2 separate regions of the Homo sapiens genome follow, and region 2 is linked to region 1. Evidence: promoter capture Hi-C in human tissues and cell types (Jung and others, 2019). All regions are on one chromosome and are shown on one strand. The core of a region is centred on a gene start or on the middle of the fragment in contact, and the rest is flanking DNA. Distances in the headings are between cores, read along the strand shown.

What was found. Contacts are between HindIII fragments. The study calls those that stand out against the background at their distance.
Region 2: a fragment that was not itself captured here is called in contact with the fragment with the promoter of PXDN in region 1 in 2 of the 25 tissues and cell types used here (aorta and heart right ventricle).

Annotation. Positions count from the first base shown.
Region 1 is chr2:1,742,770-1,746,872 of GRCh38, reverse strand. It overlaps PXDN (peroxidasin), which reads left to right and starts at 2,358. Exons shown (of 23, transcript NM_012293.3): 1 at 2,358-2,617. The coding sequence starts at 2,418. The HindIII fragment of the contact is 6,203 bases long and covers 1-3,184 here.
Region 2 is chr2:1,631,820-1,635,775 of GRCh38, reverse strand. It overlaps PXDN (peroxidasin), which reads left to right. Exons shown (of 23, transcript NM_012293.3): 22 at 255-368; 23 at 1,453-3,889. The coding sequence ends at 1,572. LOC124907723 (a long non-coding RNA gene) reads right to left here and starts at 1,745. Exons shown (of 2, transcript XR_007086188.1): 1 at 1,403-1,745; 2 at 1-91. The HindIII fragment of the contact is 3,337 bases long and covers 9-3,345 here.

The DNA of each region.
Region 1 (4,103 bases), core at 1,109-3,608:
GGGTCCTGCAGGAGAGATGGCAACTGGAGTGTGAACTGCACCCACTTGAGTGAGAGGTTGGGATGCTGCAGGTGGATGGCATTTGGAGTGTGAACTGGACCCACTTGAGTGTATGGGTAGGGTCCTGCAGGAGAGATGGCAACTGGAGTGTGAACTGGACCCACTGTTGTGCCTGGAGAGGATCCTGCAGAAGACAAGGCATCTGCAGTGTAAACTGGGCCACTGGGGTGTGTAGCTAGAATCATGCTGGAGTAACGGCTTCTGGACTGTGAGCTGGCCCCATTAAAGTGTGTGTATAGGATCCTGCAAAAGTGATAGCCTCTGGAGTGTGAATGGGACCCACTGAGGTGTGTGGATAGGATACTGCAGGGGTGATGGTGTCTGCAGTGTGAGCTGCAGCCCTGGGGCATGTGGATAGGACTCTGCAAAGAGACAGCATCTGTGGTGTGAATGGCACCGGTGGAATGTGTAGAGAGGATCCTGCAAAAGTGATGTCCTCTAGAGTGTGAACTGGACCCACTGGAGGGTGTGGACATCGTCCTGCAGGAGAGATGGCATCTAGAGTGTGAATGGCACCTCCGGAGTGTGTGGATAGGAGCCCGCAGGAGAGAGCACATGTAGAGCGTGAACTGGACCCACTGAAATGTGTGGACAGGATTCTGCAGAAGATACGGCATCCGGAGTGTGAAATGCACCACTAGTGTGTGTGCATAGAATCCTGCATAAGTTTTGGCATCTACAGTGTGAACTGGAGTCACTGGAATGTGTGAATAGGATCTTGCAGGAGAGATGTCTGCAGTGTGAGCTGGACCCACTTCTGTGTGTGGATAGTATCCTGCAGGAGAGATGTTGTCTGCAGTGTGAGCTGGGCCCACCGGAGTGTGTGAATAGGATCCTGCAGGAGAAATGGAATCCGGAGTGTGAGCTGCATCCGCTGTAGAGGGTGGATAAAATCCTGCAGGAAAGATGGCATCTGGAATGTCAGCGGGAGCCACCGACCTCTGAGGATGCACCCCGCAGGTGTGATGCGGGGCCAGTTCCAAGGCTGGGTTAGGTTTTACCCTGGCTTCTGTGTTGTACTCTCATTCTCTTCCTCTTTCTTCTAATACCTGCTCTGGGAGGCATCAGGCCATGTCCAGTGTGCAGGCCATGGAGACCCACACGGCAAGGAACTGGAACCCCCTGCCAGCAGCCTCGGGGGTCCAGTCCTTAGATGGTGCCCTGTGGTCAGCAATGCACCTGTGACCTCCGGGCTATGTCTCGTGGTAGTTGCTTTTGTGTTTTAACATAGCAACAGGAAACTAGCCTATTACCCACCAATCCCATTCCAGGCTGCTTTCAAACGCAGCTCAGGCTAGAACACCAGCACGGGGACACAGCTGAGACTTGGGGTTTGCGACGGGAACACGCCCATGCTGTGCCTCTGAATCTGGCACCGTCACCCTGTGGCCTGGGTTCAGCAACTTGGCCTCACCTTCCTTGTCTGTGAAATTCAGACTGGGTCCTTGTGAGATGATTGGAGAGAATGTATGAACTATGTGAGAACGCCACCTTTGTGCGTATCTCACGCAGTGTCTTCCCTCCTTTCCAAAGTCTTCTGCTGTCTCTAGACACACCCGACGTGGGGGGGGGGGGTTCCCTGGGTCTCCTCCTAGGTCTGTCCCAGGAGGGCACGCACTGAAGGCCGCGAGAATCCCGGGGGCTGCATTGCGCCGCGCCAAGGACTCCACACAGGACCTTTCATTTTCCCAACTGTGCTGAGCCAGGCGGCCGGCAGAGAGCAGGTGGCTGACAGGCCCCGGGGAGCCGGACCGCCTGGGTCTAATCTTCCCGCAGACTCCCTTGCTGTGCGCTTTGGGGCTTGGGCCTCAGTTTCCTCAAAAGGAATGAGGGGCTTTTTTGGAACGTTAAATAATTTCCTACGTGGTTGCGGGTAGGGAGAAGGAGAAAGAGAGGAGCGCGCCTGCGCGCCTGGAATCGTGCCCGGATCAGAGCAAGCGCTCTAAAAGTGTTACAAACATTAAGGCGCCAACTAAAAAACCCGTAGTGAGCGCAGGCAGAAACCACGGGTAAGAGAAGTGGAGAAGCTTCGCGTAGGCCCCAGGGTCCCGAGCCCCGAGTCTCGAGCGCAGAATCAGGGGTGCCAATGCTCTCCTCCGCGCCCCCGAGCGCTCGCCTTGGCCATGCGGGCCGCCCCACCGGGATGAGGGCGCTCAGGCCGGACGCTGGGGCCCCGGGTTCTCGCCCCGCCCCGCCCTCGGGGATTCAGAGGGGCCGGGAGGAGCCTCGCGCATGTGCACAGCTGGCGCCCCCCGCCCCCCGCGCACAGCTGGGACGTGGGCCGCGGCCGGGCGGGCGCAGTCGGGAGCCGGCCGTGGTGGCTCCGTGCGTCCGAGCGTCCGTCCGCGCCGTCGGCCATGGCCAAGCGCTCCAGGGGCCCCGGGCGCCGCTGCCTGTTGGCGCTCGTGCTGTTCTGCGCCTGGGGGACGCTGGCCGTGGTGGCCCAGAAGCCGGGCGCAGGGTGTCCGAGCCGCTGCCTGTGCTTCCGCACCACCGTGCGCTGCATGCATCTGCTGCTGGAGGCCGTGCCCGCCGTGGCGCCGCAGACCTCCATCCTGTGAGTGCCGCGGGGGACGCCGGGGGCGCGGGGTCCGGGGCTTCGTGGAGATCCGGGAGCGCAGGGGTGATCGGAGGTGGGGGGCGCGGAGGGTGGAGGGGGCATCGGGCGCGCGGGGGGCCTGGGGACTTGGGACGCAGAAGGGAACCTCCGAAGGGGGACGTGGGGGGACCTGGGCGCGGGGACCCGCTGGGCCTTTGTTCGCCCTGCGGGAGACGCCGAGGGGCGGAACAGAGCGCTGTGCGCGCGGCCTTCGTAGCCGCCTTTGTTCGGAACTCGGAATCCCCGCAGGACTGGGAAGTTGTTGGAGCCTCCGGGGCTCCCCCCGCTCGCCTCCCGCCGCCCCCTCTCATGCTCCGCCGGCCTCCCGCTTCCCCCTGGTTCGCGGCCCCTCCTCCGCTCACCTTTCCCCCGCTCAGGACCCCTCGGTCCCCCTCCGCTCCCCGAGCGCGGCGCAGCCCCCTCCGTCCTCCCAGCCCCCTCCGCCCCGTTCCTCGTCCTGTTCGCTCCCCTCCTCCGCTCCTCTTCCTCCTCCCCTTCCTCCTCCTCCTCCCCTTCCTCCTCCTCCTCCCCTTCCTCCTCCTCCTCCCTTCCCCTCCTCCTCCCCCCCTTCCTTCTCCTCCCCCAGCCTCCGCCCTCTCCCCCTCCCCCGCCCCTTGGAGCGCAGTGCCCACCCCATCCCCCCGCGCCGGGGAAGCCTCCCCAGAGGAGCCTCAGTTCCCGCAGCCGCGGCGCCCCCGCTCCCAGTGCCCCCGCATCTGCCCGGAGCGTCCTCTCCTGGGGTGTCCTGGGGGCCCCGCGCTTCTCAGGGGCTTTTCCTGCGCCCGGAGCGAGCCGGGCGGCCGGGGTTCCCGAGAGGGGCCGCGCGGTAGTCTCGGGGCAGCCCGGGTCTAGATGGAGCCGGGACTCAGAGCGGGTTTCTGCCTCGGGCATTTCTCTTCTTTCGCTTCTAATCCACGCGAGCGTGTTCGCAGTTGCGCTATACGTTTAACCGGATGCGTTGCGTTGGGGTTGACACCCTGTCCTGCGGGCCGTCCCGCGTCACGGTCTCCACAGCAGGAATCCCCATCCCTCCGCCCCGCGGCTCCAGGTACCGAGATGCCGCCAGAGTTCGCTGCAGGCCTCCTGTGTTCTGAAGCGAGTCGGATTCAACATTTTCGGGATCTGTGAACGCGGGCTGCGTTTCAGGCGCCGACTCTAATTTAGTCCTGTAGCGACTTTTCTGCATGCCAAAAATAGTTTTCACGTTTCTTAGCTGAGCCAGAGGACTTTTTGGCACCAGCAAAGAGTCTGCAAAAGTTGTAAAAAAATTGAGTGAACAATTCAGGAAGTGGGCGGCCAGTGCGCCTACCTCCGAAACAAAGTGCTGGGACAGACCACGGCTCCCAGGGGTCGCCGAGTTTGCAGGCTGCTTCCTGGAGGCCCTGGGGCGGGGCGGGGGCCCGAGTTCCTCTCCTCCTCCGCAGAGAGACCAAGGCTTTCTTTC
Region 2 (3,956 bases), core at 428-2,927, 110 kb after region 1:
TGAGAACGTCGCCTTTGTGACTACGGTTTTTATTTGACAGCACGGTGGTGGGAATGTCTTCCATTGGGGCGTGTGGTCAGCTGCCGCCAGTCTAATAAGGACATTGGAGATTCTGTAAAAGTTCTTCAGAAATATTCCCCTCAAATGTTGTTTATTTTAAGGCATTATTTTCAGTGAAATAACATCTTTTAATACAAGAGCCAAGCTGTTACTCTGAAGTGCCCAATGAATGAATGTTCTTTGCATTGCTGCAGATAAAGAAACTTGAATCACGGCTCAGTACCACAGAGTGCGTGGATGCCGGGGGCGAATCTCACGCCAACAACACCAAGTGGAAAAAAGATGCATGCACCATTTGTGAATGCAAAGTGAGTATGGGGGGCTCTATCTTCATGTCCTAAGGTATACGCAAGTCCGAGAGTCCCATGTGACCACTCAGGTGGGTGGCCCAGATGTCAGGGCCAGGCCCCTCCCCGCCTACCTGTGCTGGCCTCCATCCCTCCTTCACTCCTATGGAAGCACCAGGCAAGCCCAGCTCTCTGTGCACAGAGGACGTGCTAGGAGGCCCAGAACCTCAGCATGGTCCAACCCCACAGAGGGCGGGCAGCCCCTACTCTGTGCAGGGCCACCTGGGGCTGCTTGTGTGCACTGGCTTCACCTCCCACCAGCTGTGGCAGGAATACTCATGCCATGGAAACCCATGAATGGGGTAGATCAGCTCCTCCCTGCAGAGCTGGTGGGTAAACACTGACCTGCCCACCACTGGCCCTGTCCCATCTCCAGTCAGAGCTGGGGGTGTTACAGAGGTCACTGGAGTCCCTGCAAAGGGAGACTGGTGGCAGGTGGAGGGTGCCCTGGTGCCGGCAATGGACAGACGTCTGGCTGGAACCAGGCTCCGTGGAAAGCTTGGGGCATAGTGTGAGGAGGCAGGATGGGGAGGACAGCGCGCCAGCCCGGGCACTTCTCTTGCCATGGCCATTGGGAGAGGACGCGCATCAGTGTCCCTGAGCTGGTCAGGTTTGGGAAGGGCAGACCGGGGAAGAGCAAAGCCCTGTCCCTTCCCCCCTCTCTCTAGTCCCATCCTGCTTCCTGACAACGCCCACCCCCAGACACAGTCCGAGGGGATCCAGGTGTGAGGTGGGAGGATGTGTCCAGCTGGTGGTCTTGGCCCCTCAGGGTGAGAGGACCGTGGGCATGGACGGAAGGGTGGGACGGGAGCCTCAGGGAGACTTGTTATGGGGGCTCCCATTAACTCATACCTGTCTGCAACTATGAAATCCTAAGAGAACCACAAAATCCATGCCCACAGGGCAAGTACAGCGGGCAAGGCAGGGGCCTCAGGGCAAGGCCTGACTCATGGCCGTGGCTGACACCTGTCCCGGAGCTGACAGGCTTTGCTCACCTGAAGGCCATCCCAGAGCTGACAGGCTGTGCTCCGTCTCTCTTCTCCAGGACGGGCAGGTCACCTGCTTCGTGGAAGCTTGCCCCCCTGCCACCTGTGCTGTCCCCGTGAACATCCCAGGGGCCTGCTGTCCAGTCTGCTTACAGAAGAGGGCGGAGGAAAAGCCCTAGGCTCCTGGGAGGCTCCTCAGAGTTTGTCTGCTGTGCCATCGTGAGATCGGGTGGCCGATGGCAGGGAGCTGCGGACTGCAGACCAGGAAACACCCAGAACTCGTGACATTTCATGACAACGTCCAGCTGGTGCTGTTACAGAAGGCAGTGCAGGAGGCTTCCAACCAGAGCATCTGCGGAGAAGGAGGCACAGCAGGTGCCTGAAGGGAAGCAGGCAGGAGTCCTAGCTTCACGTTAGACTTCTCAGGTTTTTATTTAATTCTTTTAAAATGAAAAATTGGTGCTACTATTAAATTGCACAGTTGAATCATTTAGGCGCCTAAATTGATTTTGCCTCCCAACACCATTTCTTTTTAAATAAAGCAGGATACCTCTATATGTCAGCCTTGCCTTGTTCAGATGCCAGGAGCCGGCAGACCTGTCACCCGCAGGTGGGGTGAGTCTTGGAGCTGCCAGAGGGGCTCACCGAAATCGGGGTTCCATCACAAGCTATGTTTAAAAAGAAAATTGGTGTTTGGCAAACGGAACAGAACCTTTGATGAGAGCGTTCACAGGGACACTGTCTGGGGGTGCAGTGCAAGCCCCCGGCCTCTTCCCTGGGAACCTCTGAACTCCTCCTTCCTCTGGGCTCTCTGTAACATTTCACCACACGTCAGCATCTAATCCCAAGACAAACATTCCCGCTGCTCGAAGCAGCTGTATAGCCTGTGACTCTCCGTGTGTCAGCTCCTTCCACACCTGATTAGAACATTCATAAGCCACATTTAGAAACAGGTTTGCTTTCAGCTGTCACTTGCACACATACTGCCTAGTTGTGAACCAAATGTGAAAAAACCTCCTTCATCCCATTGTGTATCTGATACCTGCCGAGGGCCAAGGGTGTGTGTTGACAACGCCGCTCCCAGCCGGCCCTGGTTGCGTCCACGTCCTGAACAAGAGCCGCTTCCGGATGGCTCTTCCCAAGGGAGGAGGAGCTCAAGTGTCGGGAACTGTCTAACTTCAGGTTGTGTGAGTGCGTTAAAAAAAAAAAAAAAAAAGAATCCCTATACCTCATTTGTATTTTTAAAATGCGTGATGTTTTATGAAATTGTGTCCATTTTTTAGGTATTAGATATGGCAGAAAAACCATTTCCACTATGCAAAGTTCTTTTAGACGTCAGTGAAAATCAACTCTCATACCTCATGGTCTCTCTTTAATTGACCAAAACCTTCCATTTTTCTCTAAATACAAAGCGATCTGTGTTCTGAGCAACCTTTCCCCGAACACACAGCTTCAGTGCAGCACGCTGACCTGAGTATCCACCATGTGCCAGGCACAGTGCTGGGCACACGAGGCACCAAGGTCCGGGCCACCTGCCCGCAGCAAGGCCCAGCTGAGGTGGTGGAGGGAGCCCCTGAGGTCAGGGGCCGTTTCGGTTCAGGGTGGCAGGTGTCCAGCACTGGGGTATGGCGTCGAGGCTTCCATGGGGTGGGGGAGGCCAGCTTCCTTCTGACAGGATGGGCGCATACAGTGCCTGGTGTGATTTGTGCACAACCCGTGTTCCAGGTGCACATCCTCCCAAGGAGACACCCAGACCCTTCCAGCACGGGCCGGCCAAGTTGCTGCGGCGGAGGCAGCATTTCAGCTGTGAGGAAGGTCATTGGATTCATGTGTTTTATCTGTAAAAATGGTTGTCTTAACTTCTTAACCTCATATTGGTAAGTGATTGATAAAAATTGGTTGGTGTTTCATGACATGTGGACTTCTTTTGAAATAGCAAGTCAAATGTAGTGACCAAATTGTGGAAGAGATTTCTGTCAAATAGGAAATGTGTAAGTTCGTCTAAAAGCTGATGGTTATGTAAGTTGCTCAGGCACTCAGATGACAGCAGATTCTGGGTTCTGGGAGTGTTCTGTGCCTCTTACATGCCCTGGAGGCCTCATGGTCTCAGTGCTGAGGCGGCACACCTGTAGCACACCTGCGTAATGTGCGGTCTGGGCCAGTCACAAGGAATTGTGTTGTCTAAGCCAAAGGGGGAAGCTGACTGTGATTTACCAAAAAAAATTCTGTAATTCAAACCAAAATGTCTGCGGAATCACCAGTTTGATACTCTCTGTAATCAGAACAGTGGGCAGTGCCTGGGTGAACGTGTCTAGCAGCCACTGTGCGGGATCGCTGTAACAGGAGTGGAATGTACATATTTATTTACTTTTCTAACTGCTCCAACAGCCAAATGCCTTTTTTATGACCATTGTATTCAGTTCATTACCAAAGAAATGTTTGCACTTTGTAATGATGCCTTTCAGTTCAAATAAATGGGTCACATTTTCAAATGGAGAATGGCTTTATTTTTTTTTACCTGAAACCAGTACATGAGGCTAAAACTTTTCCAGGTGAGATCAAA